Linked DNA regions of Homo sapiens: region 1 is linked to region 2. Evidence: promoter capture Hi-C in 16 types of primary human blood cells and fetal thymus (Javierre and others, 2016). All regions are on one chromosome and are shown on one strand. Each heading gives the region's core, a stretch centred on a gene start or on the middle of the fragment in contact. The rest is flanking DNA. Distances are from core to core; before and after follow the strand shown.

Region 1 (5,583 bases), core at 1,305-3,804, 160 kb before region 2:
CAGCACTCCTGCCTCCATCCCAGGGGCCCATCCTGGCCAGTCAATTAGCAACTAGCTCTAAGTGTCTTAAATGCCAGGTTTTGTGGTCATCCTCCTTTCTTTCCAGAAAGTGGCCACAGTATAATTACAATACAGTCCTGGAGGAGGGAAGTGCTAGGAGATTAGGGAAACGCTGCTGTGGGTAGTGTGACCCATCTTTTTTTTTTTTTTTTTTTTGAGACAAAGTCTCACTCTCTCACCCAGGCTGGAGTGGAGTGGTGTGATCTCAGCTCACTCTGCTTCCCAGGTTCAAGTGATTCTCGTGTCTCAGCCTCCTGAGTAGCTGCTGGGATTACAGGCATGTGCTACAATGCAGGGTTAATTTTTTGTTTTGTTTTTTTTTTTGAGATGTAGTCTTGCTCTGTCGCCAGGTTGGAGTGCAGTGGCATGATCTTGGCTCACTGCAACCTCCGCCTCCCAGGTTCAAGCAATTCTCCTGCCTCAGCCTCCCGAGTAGCTAGGATTACAGCTGCCTGCCACCACGCCTGGCTAATTTTTGTATTTTTAGTAGAGATGGGGTTTCGCCATGTTGGCCAGGCTGGTCTCGAACCCCTGAGCTCAAGTGATCTGCCTACCTCAGCCTCCCAAAATGCTGGGATTACAGGTGTGAGCCACTGCACCTGGCCAGACCCGTTATTTTATTTTATTTTATTTTATTTTATTCTTATACAGACAGTGCTGGTCTTGAACTCCTGGCCTCAAGCAATCCTCCTGCTTTGGCCTCCCAAAGTGCTGGTATTTCAGGGATGAGCCACGGCACCTGGCAGCAACCTCTCATTTCGAGAAAAGAGAAGGCTTCCTGGAGGAAATGGCTTTTCCTCCTGGGCTTTCGACAGTTTGACTCAAGAGCTTACTGTGTGATAGGCGCTGTCTCACTGAGAGGTATAAGATTAAAGACGTTCCTGGCCCAAGGACCACATGGCTGAGTGCTGTGAGGAAAGTGAGCAGCCAACTCAACTGATGGGGGAACAGGAAGCCAACCCAGAGGAAGTGTGGCACTTGAAAACTTGAGTACTGAAGGCTGAGTAGGAGTTTTTCAGGAGGTGGTACGGGGGAAGGGGATTCTAGGTTGAAAAGAACAGCACATGTGGCATCTGTCAGGATTGGCCAGAAGGTTTTCATGATTTAGAGCACAGAGAGAGGGAAGAGAGGAAGGATTGGGAACTGATCCTGAGGCTAGTGTGCCCTGAAGTGTAGGACACATCCAGCTGGCAGCACAGGAGATGATTGGGGGCAAAACAAGGTCATGGCATGGAATAACAGAAAATTATTTCCTTTTCCATTTTCTTCCAGTCTTTAAGACATCAAAAAGTGCCAGGTGCGGTGGCTCACGCCTGTAATCTCAGCACTTTGGGAGGCCAAGGCAGGAGGATCACTTGAGTTCAGGAGTTCAGGTCCAGCCTGTCTTTACACAATTTTTTTTTCTTGTTTTTGAGATGAAGTTTCGCTCTTGTTGCCCAGGCTGGAGTGCAATGTTGTGATCTCGGCTCACTGCAACCTCCGCCTCCCGAGTTCAAGTGATTCTCCTGCCTCGGCCTCCCGAGTAGCTGGGATTACAGGCATGCGACACCACACCCAGCTAATTTTCTGTAATTTTAGTAGAGACAGGATTTCTCCATGTTGGTCAGCTGGTCTCGAACTCCCAGCCTCAGGTGATCCGCCTGCCTCAGCCTCCCAAAGTGCTGGGATTACAGGCGTGAGCCACCGCGCCTGGCCTACGTAAATTTTTAAAAAATCAGCCAAGCATGGTGGTGGGCACCTGTGGTCCCAGCTACTCAGGAGGCTGAGGTGAGAGGATCCTTTGATCTCAGGAGGTTAAGGCTGTAGTGAGCCATGTTTGTGCCACTGCACTCCAGCCTGGGTGACAGAGTGAGACCCTGTCTCAAAAAAAAAAAAAAAAGAAAAAGAAAAAATCTCAGTTTGGTGCTACTGTAACTTTGACACCCCACCAACCCTTTTAAAAAAGAAGGTGTAGGGCTAGGCACGGTGGCTCATGCCTGTAATCCCAGCACTTTGGGAGGCCGAGGCGGATTGATCACGAGGTCAGGAGATGGAGACCATCCTGGCTAACATGGTGAAACCCTGTCTTCACTAAAAATACAAAATAAAAAAAAATTAGCCAGGTGTAGTGGCAGGTGCCTGTAGTCCCAGATACTCGGGAGGCTGAGGCAGGAGAATGGTATGAACCCGGGAGGTGGAGCTTGCAGTGAGCCAAGATCGTGCCACTGCACTCTCGCCTGGGCGACAGAGCGAGACTCCTCAAAAAAGAAAAAAGTGTAGGCTTCAGGATCAGAGAGACTAGAGCACTTAACTAGAATGTTCTAGACTGTTGAAAGCTTTCTTTTTTAAATTTCAGCTTGTGTTTATGAGTACTTTCTTGTCACCCAGGCTGGAGTGCAGTAGCACAATCTCAGCTCACTGCAGCCTCAAACTGCTGAGCTCCAGTGAACCTCCCACCTCACCCTCTCCAGTAGCTGGGACCATAGGCATGGGCCACCGCGCCCGGCTAATTGTTTTATTATTTGTAGAGACAAGGTCTCACTGTGTTGTCCAGGCTTTTTATGAGTACTATTTAGGGCAAGTAATACTGATAGTGCTATAAATATTTCTTTTAAATACGTAGAACAAAAGGTCGGGGGGAGAGCCAAGGTGAAGAAACGCAGTACAGATGGGAATGACCACGGCAAAGCTTATGAAGGTGGTGTGCAGATAACCGAGGCTGAGGAAATGCTGCTGTGGGTGGCAACAGGGAGCCATGGAAGAAGAGAGGCACAATGAGAACCAGACAGCAGACGGCTCTGGCGGAGAGAAGGGTCTGGGGGGGAAATCATCGAGGCAAGGAGGTTGTCAGTAGGCGGCAGCTACTTACCCAGATGGCATCTGACCCGGGCATTGGTGGGCCCACAGCGGCCCTCGAGCCGGGCCCCAGGCAGGAGAACGGAAAAGCCGGCATTGCCGAAGGTGTTGGCACTCATAAAGCTTCGAAGCCCCCTCAGTGCCCGATAGGCCCCCGGGCACCGGCGGCAGTTGCTGGGTTGGCACCGGCCTGCTTGGTACAGCAGGAGCTGGTAGCACCCGGGGGCCAGAGGTGGGGACCAGCCCCGAGGCGGAGGGGTAGTCCCTGAGAAGTCCCAGCTCACAGCCCCGAAGTCCCGCAAAATGGCAGGGAAGCTGCTCTCCAGGAGCTCCACGTCGTGCCGCTGGGCGTCCCGCGGCACAAAGGGGGCTGAAGGCAGGTCTGGTAGGAAAAGCAGGCCTGGGCGCTGAATACCTAGGACCCCTGGCCCTCTCCCAGGGCCTGGGCCACCCTGAGCTGCCCGCCTCACTCTACCCATCCCAGCCCAGGAGTAGCGCCTTGCGTAGGCCCGAAGCCGCCGGCTCACTAGGCCTTCCGTCCTAGGTCCTTCCCCGGGATCCCCAGGACCCCCTGGGCTTGGCCCGCCGGCCTCCGAGCATCCCACAGGCCCACCACGAACACCCCCAGCTCGGCTCCCAGCCCCTAGGGCCTGCATGTCTTGGGAGCCCAGGCGGTAGCAGTACCAGAGGAACAGGGAAGTGAGGGCCCCGAAGAGCAAGGTGAGGGCCGAGGAGGCCAGGGGTAGTGGCCACGGGAGCATGATCAGGGAGGCCCTGGCCAAGAGGCCTGGGGCGTCCTCCGGACCCCAGTTCCCCTGTCCCCCCAGCTCCCCACCTGTCCCTTCCATGGCTGCCCCCTGGCTCCCCGCTGGACTGTTTCCCTTCCACATTCCACTCTGGGCTGTCTCTCTCTCCTTCCGCGGTCCTCTCTCCACGCTGAAGCTCCCTCTCCCCTCCTTCATGCACCTCCAACCCTCCTCTCTCCTTTCTCTCCCCTTTCTCTCTCCTTCTACCTCTTCTTCCTCCTCTCCCTCTGTCGCCTCCTCACCCTCTTCTTTCTCCTTCCAGCAGCCTCCTCTCTCTCGCTCTGCTTCTCTCTCCCACCTCAATCTCCCCCTTTCCTCCCCACCCCCGCTTTTCGCTCGCTCTCTCTCCCCGCTTCCTCCTAGCTCCCCTGGGCAGCGGTTCCTACCCTGCCTGGACCTGCAGTCCCGGGAACCCGCAGCCTGTCTTCCTCCGCGGCAGCTTCTTTCTCTCCGGCCTCACTGCTCTCTCCTTGCCCTCGCTCCTCACTAGCCCCGACCCTGCGGTCCTGCCTGGCTCTCGCTCCCTCTCTCCTACTCGCTCCTTCCTGGGCTCCCACTCACCCTGACGTCACTCCTTCCCGGAGCCCTCTCAGCTCAGCCACCCCCGAACCCTCCCAGTGGCACAGCAAATCAGCCGGGTGCCGGGGGAGGGGGGAGAGTTGTCGCTGGAGGTGCCTCCCCACCCCCCCCGCCCGGAAAGGGCGCCACGTGGGGCGCAGGGGCCACGGTGCCAGCCTCCAGCCGTCCCGCAATGCGAAAGAAGGGGCGGGTCGTATCGGGCGGGGCCTGAGGGGCGGGGCCTGAGGGGCGGGGCGAGCGCGGACTGACGGCTGGGCAGGCGCCCGGGACTGCGGGCAAGGATGCTGAGGCCAGTCCGTCGGGCGGCTGGTCCGTCGGTCGGTCGGCCTGTGACTCCCGCTGGCCCTAGGCAGCCCGGGAGCCCGCGAGCCTGGCAAACACCGAAAGCGGCCTCAGCCAATCGCGGGCGGCGTCGGGCCGGGCCCGCCCCGGCGGGGCGAGGGGAGCTGTCCGCGCGCCGCTGGTGCTGAAAAGGGCGCTCCGGAGGGAAAATCAGAGCCGAGGCCGCCTGTTAGCTGGCCGGGGTCAGGGTTTATGGAAGAGGAGGGGTCTGTCTCTCCTCCCCAAACCCCGGCCCGTCACCCACGAGACTTGTCACAATCGTGGAAGCTCTCTATTCCCCTGGAGGAGGGAGAGCCCATTCCACCCGAGCTACTGTAAAAGGGGAAGGGAAGCCCCTTGGGAGGTCTGAATGTGAACAGGGGGCATAATTGGGGGCCTAGCAGGCGCGAACCAAGCTATGCAGCCCCTCGGCACCCTGGGAAGAGGAGATTCAGATTCCAGATGTGCTGGAATGGCAGGCGGAGGGGGCTAATTACTGCTGGGACCAGAGAGTTTCCTTTGCCTCCCCTAGGGGCCGCGGGAGTGAGGATTACGGCCCTGGCTCGTATGATCCCTCCCTCCTCCATCTGCACTTCCTCCTCCTCCCTCCCCGTCAAATAAATCCCAGGCCCCTCCCTCCGCCCGTCCCCAGGATCTGACGTGGGCTCGATACCTTTCTCAGCTTCTCCCTCCCGCAGCTCCAGTGCCCGAGCTTCGGCTCTCCCAGTTCCCCAACCCACCCCTTCCCCTCCCCGACAAGCCCCGCTAGAGCCCAGTGGAGACCCCCTCGATCCTCGACCCCACCCTAAACCCCCAGAAGCTGTCTTTCTCCTCCCCAGTCCCCTAGCTTGGGGTCCAGACAGCCCAGTGGACCCAGGCGCCTGAGCAGGAGGGTAACCCAGGCCACCCGGCCCCTTCGGCCCTCTCGGCCCCACCCCCTGCAGCCGGAGCCGCGCCCCCTCCACCACAGAGCCGCGAGAAG
Region 2 (5,407 bases), core at 377-2,876:
CTTTTCATTCATTTATTTATTTAATTTATTTATTTTGAGACAGAGTCTCGCTCTGTTGCCCAGGCTGGAGTGGAATGGCACGATCTCGGCTCACTGCACCGGGTTCAAGCGATTCTCCTGCCTCAGCCTCCTGAGTAGTTGGGGTCATAGGCGTGCGGCACCACGCCCGGCTAATTTTTGTATTTTTAGTAGAGACGGGGTTTTGCCATGTTGGCCAGGCTGCTCCCAAACTCCTGACCTCAGGTGATCCACCCGCCTCGGTCTCCCAAAGTGCTGGGATTACAGGCATGAGCCACCTCGCCCAGCCCAGGGATTTCTATCTATTCTTCCACCACCCTGGCCACTACATGCTCACCCACACATACATTGGTCATGCGACTTTGGTCATGAAATCTCTTTTCTTTAAGCCTTACTTTTGTCATCTGTGGATGAGTCAAACTAGAGAATCTCAGAAAGTCACCTGGACTCCAGAGCCTGATGACATCTTGTCACACTCTGCTCCAGGCTCCTCCCACCCTCAGCAGCAGGAAAGAGGGACAGACATGAGGATGGTCAGGGTTTTGGAAACAGGCCCACGCCTGTTTTTATACCCTGGACTCCTCTCAGAGGCTTGACATTTTTGTTACCCAAGCCTCACCTCACTGATATTTTCCAACCAAAATGGGGGCTAAATGGTCTGAAGAGAGAGAGACTTATGTTAATTAAAAGTATGAGGCAGGGGCCAGTGTGGTAGCTCACACCTGTAATCCCAGCACTTTGGGAGGCTGAGGCAGGAGGATCTCTTGAGGCCAGGAGCTTGAGACCAGCCTGGGCAACATAGCAAGAGCCCATCTCTACCAGAAAAAAAAAAAAAAGGTGTGAAGCAAGCTGGCCAAGCAGGGGGTGCCTGTGGGGGCTGCATGGCAGGAGCAGATCTGGGGAGGCACCGTGGATAAGACAAGGCAGGATGGGGTGGGGCATCCTCCCAGGAGGAACGGGGGAGGCACCATGGTTCTCTGGGAATGTACGGGCTAAAGTCCCAGTGTCCTATTTCTTTTTCTTTTCTTTTCTTTTCTTTTTTTTTAAGACGGAGTCTCACTCTGTTGCCCAGGCTGGAGTGTGGTGGCACGATCTCAGCTCACTGCAACCTCCGAGTCCCGGGTTCAAGCGATTCTCCCTGCCTCAGCCGCCTGAGCAGCTGAGATTACAAGTGCCCGTCACCATGCCCAGCTAATTTTTGTATTTTTCAGTAGAGATGGGGTTTCGCCATGTTGGCAGGCTGGTCTCGAACTCCTGACCTCAGGTGACTTGCCCACCTTGACCTCCCAAAATGCTGGGATTACAGGGGTGAGCCACTGTGCCTGGCCCCGGCGTCCTCTTTCTCAGCTTTTCGGTGAATGTTCTGGGGCTCAGGGCCTGGCTATGGGGTGACACTAAGTTCAACAGAACCATTGCCCATTCCAGCCCCACCTTACCCCAGGAAAAGCCTCCTCACCGCAGTGACCACATCCCCTTGGGTTGCTTTGGAAACAAACACTCCCCAGGGGCAGACGAGTTGGGGCACAGTTGCCCAGCAACAGGCGGTGCCCTCCCTTCCGCCTTCATCCGAGGCCGGGCCTCTACGTCTGAGAGGCGGACCGCCCTGCACCCTCCAAGCCTGCACCTCTTAGTCCAGCACCAGGAAGAGTGGCTCTAGGAGGGAGAGGAGCCCAGGGACTGACCCAAGGTGAGTTGAGGGGTGCAGGAGGCCCCCTGCAGATGGAGGATGTGGGGGACAGAGAGGTGTGCAGAGACAAACGAGAGATAGAGACAGGCCAGAGCCTGGGCAAAGCTGGGGAGCCCAGGAGGGGTGCAGAGGCGCCTCCGGAGGCCTGGCCCGGCCCGGCCCGGCAGCAGATTCCGTGGAGCCTATGAGAGCAAGATCAAGTCCGAGGAGAATGGTGAGGGGCGAAGGAGCCTCAAGGGGCCAGCGGAGGTGCTGGCGGCAGGCGGTGGGGGAGACACACGCAGGGGAGCCAGTGGGAGGGGAGGTTCTCATTTCTTCACCCACCACTTCCTCTCTAGGTCTGAGCAAGACTTGAGGGGGCCGAGTGGGGAGGAAAGAAGCCCTTGAGACCTTTCTTGTCTGAGGCACCCTGGGGTCTGGGAGGGAAATGGGGATTCTGGAAAGGCCTGGAGAGCCAGGCAGGAGGGCCTGGCTGTGCCCCGAGGTAGGCTGCCTGTCCTCCCACCCCACCTGGCTCACGCTTACCCTTTCTGGTCCCTCTTGCTTCTCTGTCTCTCCAGAATGTTCTTTTTCATTTTTGAGAAAGGGTCTTGCTCTATTGCCCAGGCTGGAGGACAGTGGTGCAATCTGGGGTCACTGCAGCTTCAAACTCCTGGGCTCAAGTAATCCTCCCACCTCAGCTTCCTGTGTAGCTGGGACTACAGGTGTGAGCCACCACACCCAGCTAGTTTTTAAATTATTTTTAGAGATGAGGTTTCACTGTGTGTCCAGGCTGGTCTTGAACTCCTGGGCTCAAGTGATCCTCCCGCCTCGACCTCTCAAAGTGCTGGGATTCCAGGCATGAGCCCCCATGCCCAGCCCTTCTCCCAGGCTTTCCTGGACACCTGCTGCCTCTCTCTCATCTTGGTTGTGCCCCCTCTGCCTCATTTACTTCCTCTTCTCACCCCTGTGTCTCTCAGATGCCGTTGACTCCAGAGCCGCCCTCTGGGCGCGTGGAGGGGCCCCCCGCATGGGAAGCAGCCCCATGGCCCTCACTGCCCTGTGGGCCCTGCATCCCCATCATGCTGGTCCTGGCCACCCTGGCTGCGCTCTTCATCCTCACCACCGCTGTGTTGGCTGAACGCCTGTTCCGCCGTGCTCTCCGCCCAGACCCCAGCCACCGTGCACCCACCCTGGTGTGGCGCCCAGGAGGAGAGCTGTGGATTGAGCCCATGGGCACCGCCCGAGAGCGCTCTGAGGACTGGTATGGCTCTGCGGTCCCCCTGCTGACAGATCGGGCCCCTGAGCCTCCCACCCAGGTGGGCACTTTGGAGGCCCGAGCAACAGCCCCACCTGCCCCCTCAGCCCCAAATTCTGCTCCCAGCAACTTGGGCCCCCAGACCGTACTGGAGGTCCCAGCCCGGAGCACCTTCTGGGGGCCCCAGCCCTGGGAGGGGAGGCCCCCCGCCACAGGCCTGGTGAGCTGGGCTGAACCCGAGCAGAGGCCAGAGGCCAGCGTCCAGTTTGGGAGCCCCCAGGCCAGGAGGCAGCGGCCAGGGAGCCCGGATCCTGAGTGGGGCCTCCAGCCACGGGTCACCTTGGAGCAGATCTCAGCTTTCTGGAAGCGTGAAGGCCGGACCAGTGTGGGGTTCTGAATCCCCAGGGTTCCCCAGAGATCCCCGAGGCAGGCCTTGCCTCAGTGGGACCGGGGACCCCAGGATCCAGCATTAGGATTGAGACTGCCCCAGCGAAGATGCCCTTCCCAGGCTCCTTCCACCTGGAGTCCCCCTCCCCGGGTCTGGGTGGTGGCCAGGCTATGTGGACTAGGGGAAGCCCAGCAGTGCCTCTGCTCAGCTACCTGGGCTGTGGCTCAGAGACCTGGGGGTGGAGCCAATGCCAGGCCAGAAGCCTTCAAGATCGCATCCAGATGAAGAACCCAAGGTACTAGATAGTCAGGAAATGGCATCGACCAGCCACCTCCACCTTCTTTCAGTGTTTACCGAAGCCACCAATACCAAAGAGAACGGGTCCTGCGGTGCTGAACAGCCTCGGTGTGGCGATGACAGCTGGCAGGAGATGACAGGAATCCAGTTTCCCAGAGCCACAAATCCTGTTCTCCTTGGCCACTCACCCACTGTGAGGTCCTCTAGGAAAATACACAAAGAGAGGACCAGACCAGGCAGAGGAACATTTTGTTTCATATGAACTGTGGCTTTGACCCCCAAACTGCAAGGAGGAACTTGCTGGGCCAAGCTGCAGCGGCGCTGTCTTGCTGGAGTGGGGACCTAGAGTCAGAGAAAACCCACAGGCTCCTCTGCCCATTCTCCTCCATCTGCACACGTCTCAGCCTCGGACCCTCACCACTCCATGGTGAGGAAGGCCATGGCCAGGGGAAACTGAGTTTCATCCAATGTGGAGAGGAGCGTTGTCCTAGAGCAGGGCAACTCCCAAACTGTGACCTCTGATCATCGTCCCTTCCAGCTTGCTGGAGTGTCCAGAGAGACAGATTTGCCACAAGCTAGGCTTACTTATAATGCTCCACCCTACAGAAATGGGACCCCAAGTACCCAATCTTCCCTTTAGGAGAGGCAGGCAGGTGGGTGAGCAGCAGATGTAGTTTCCATTTCCCTGGGGGTTTAATTTTCCAAACTTTGTCTTTTTTTTTTTTTTTTTTTTTTTTTTGAGACAGAATCTCAACTCTGTCACCCAGACTGGAGTGCAGTGGCACAATCTCAACTCACTACAGCCTCGAACTCCTAGGCTCAAGCGATCCTCCCACCTCAACCTCTAGAATAGCTGGGACTGCAGGTGCATACCACCACGCCCAGCTAATTTTTGTATTTTTTTTGTAGAGACACGGTCTCACCATACTGCCTGGGCAGGTTTCCAACTCCTGGGCTCAAGTGATCCAGCAGCCTTAGCCTCCCAAAATGCTGGGATTACAGGTATGAGCACTGCACCCGGCCACTTTTTTTTGTTTTTGAAACAGGGTCTCACTCTGTTGCCCAGGCTGGACTACAGTGGCACAATCTCAGCTCACTGCGGCCTTGAACTCCTGGGCTTAAGTGATCCTCCCACCTCAGTCTCCCTAGTAGGTGGAACTACAGGCATGTACCACCACACCTGGCTATTTTTTTTTTTTAGAGACAGGGTCTTGCTATGTTGCCCAGGCTGGTCTTTAATTCCTGGGCTCGAGAGAGCCACTCATCCCCATCTCTCAGAGTGTTGGGATTACAGCCATGAGCCACCATGCCCGGCCAAACTTCAGCCTTGAATATTAGTGATTTTGCCATATTAGTTTACCATCTGTACAATTATTTGCTTTATATTTTTCTTTAAATTGGCTCATTATTCACTTAATGAAATTATTGCAACAGGAATCTTTTGTATCACTTCTGTAAATGGAAAACCAGTCTCATTTGCCATCAATAGAAGGTAAAACATGAAAATAAATACAATGTAAACAAAATTGTTAAGATCTAAATTCTGTTCCCTGCTGGAAGCATTGACCTAAAACTCTGCTCTTTGTTTTTGTTGTTGTTTTTGAGACGGAGTCTCGCTCTGTTGCCCAGGCTGCAGTGTGATGGCGCGATCTCCGCTCACTGCAACCTCCGCCTCTGGGTTTAAGCGATTCTCCTGCCTCAGCTTCCCAAGTAGCTGGGATTACAGGCGCCTGCCACCATGCCTGGCTAATTTTTGTATTTTTAGTAGAGACAGGGTTTT

The links. The method cuts DNA at HindIII sites, captures the fragments that hold promoters and counts their contacts. A CHiCAGO score of 5 or more calls a contact.
Region 1: a contact is called between a fragment that was not itself captured here and the fragment with the promoter of C16orf54 in region 2, in 1 of 17 cell types (erythroblasts). The highest score is 7.3, in erythroblasts.

What each region holds. Positions count from the first base shown.
Region 1 is chr16:29,899,246-29,904,828 of GRCh38, reverse strand. ASPHD1 (aspartate beta-hydroxylase domain containing 1) reads right to left here and starts at 4,341. Exons shown (of 3, transcript NM_181718.4): 1 at 2,909-4,341. The coding sequence starts at 3,857. SEZ6L2 (seizure related 6 homolog like 2) reads left to right here and starts at 5,279. Exons shown (of 18, transcript NM_001243332.2): 1 at 5,279-5,583. RefSeq lists enhancers at 2,616-3,320, 5,087-5,381 and a silencer at 4,294-4,723. The HindIII fragment of the contact is 353 bases long and covers 2,378-2,730 here.
Region 2 is chr16:29,742,209-29,747,615 of GRCh38, reverse strand. C16orf54 (chromosome 16 open reading frame 54) reads left to right here and starts at 1,626. Exons shown (of 2, transcript NM_175900.4): 1 at 1,626-1,705; 2 at 2,665-5,153. The coding sequence starts at 2,665. The coding sequence ends at 3,339. It overlaps LOC124903673 (a long non-coding RNA gene), which reads right to left and starts at 2,369. Exons shown (of 2, transcript XR_007065046.1): 1 at 2,231-2,369. RefSeq lists enhancers at 690-759, 1,287-1,336. The HindIII fragment of the contact is 10,190 bases long and covers 1-5,407 here.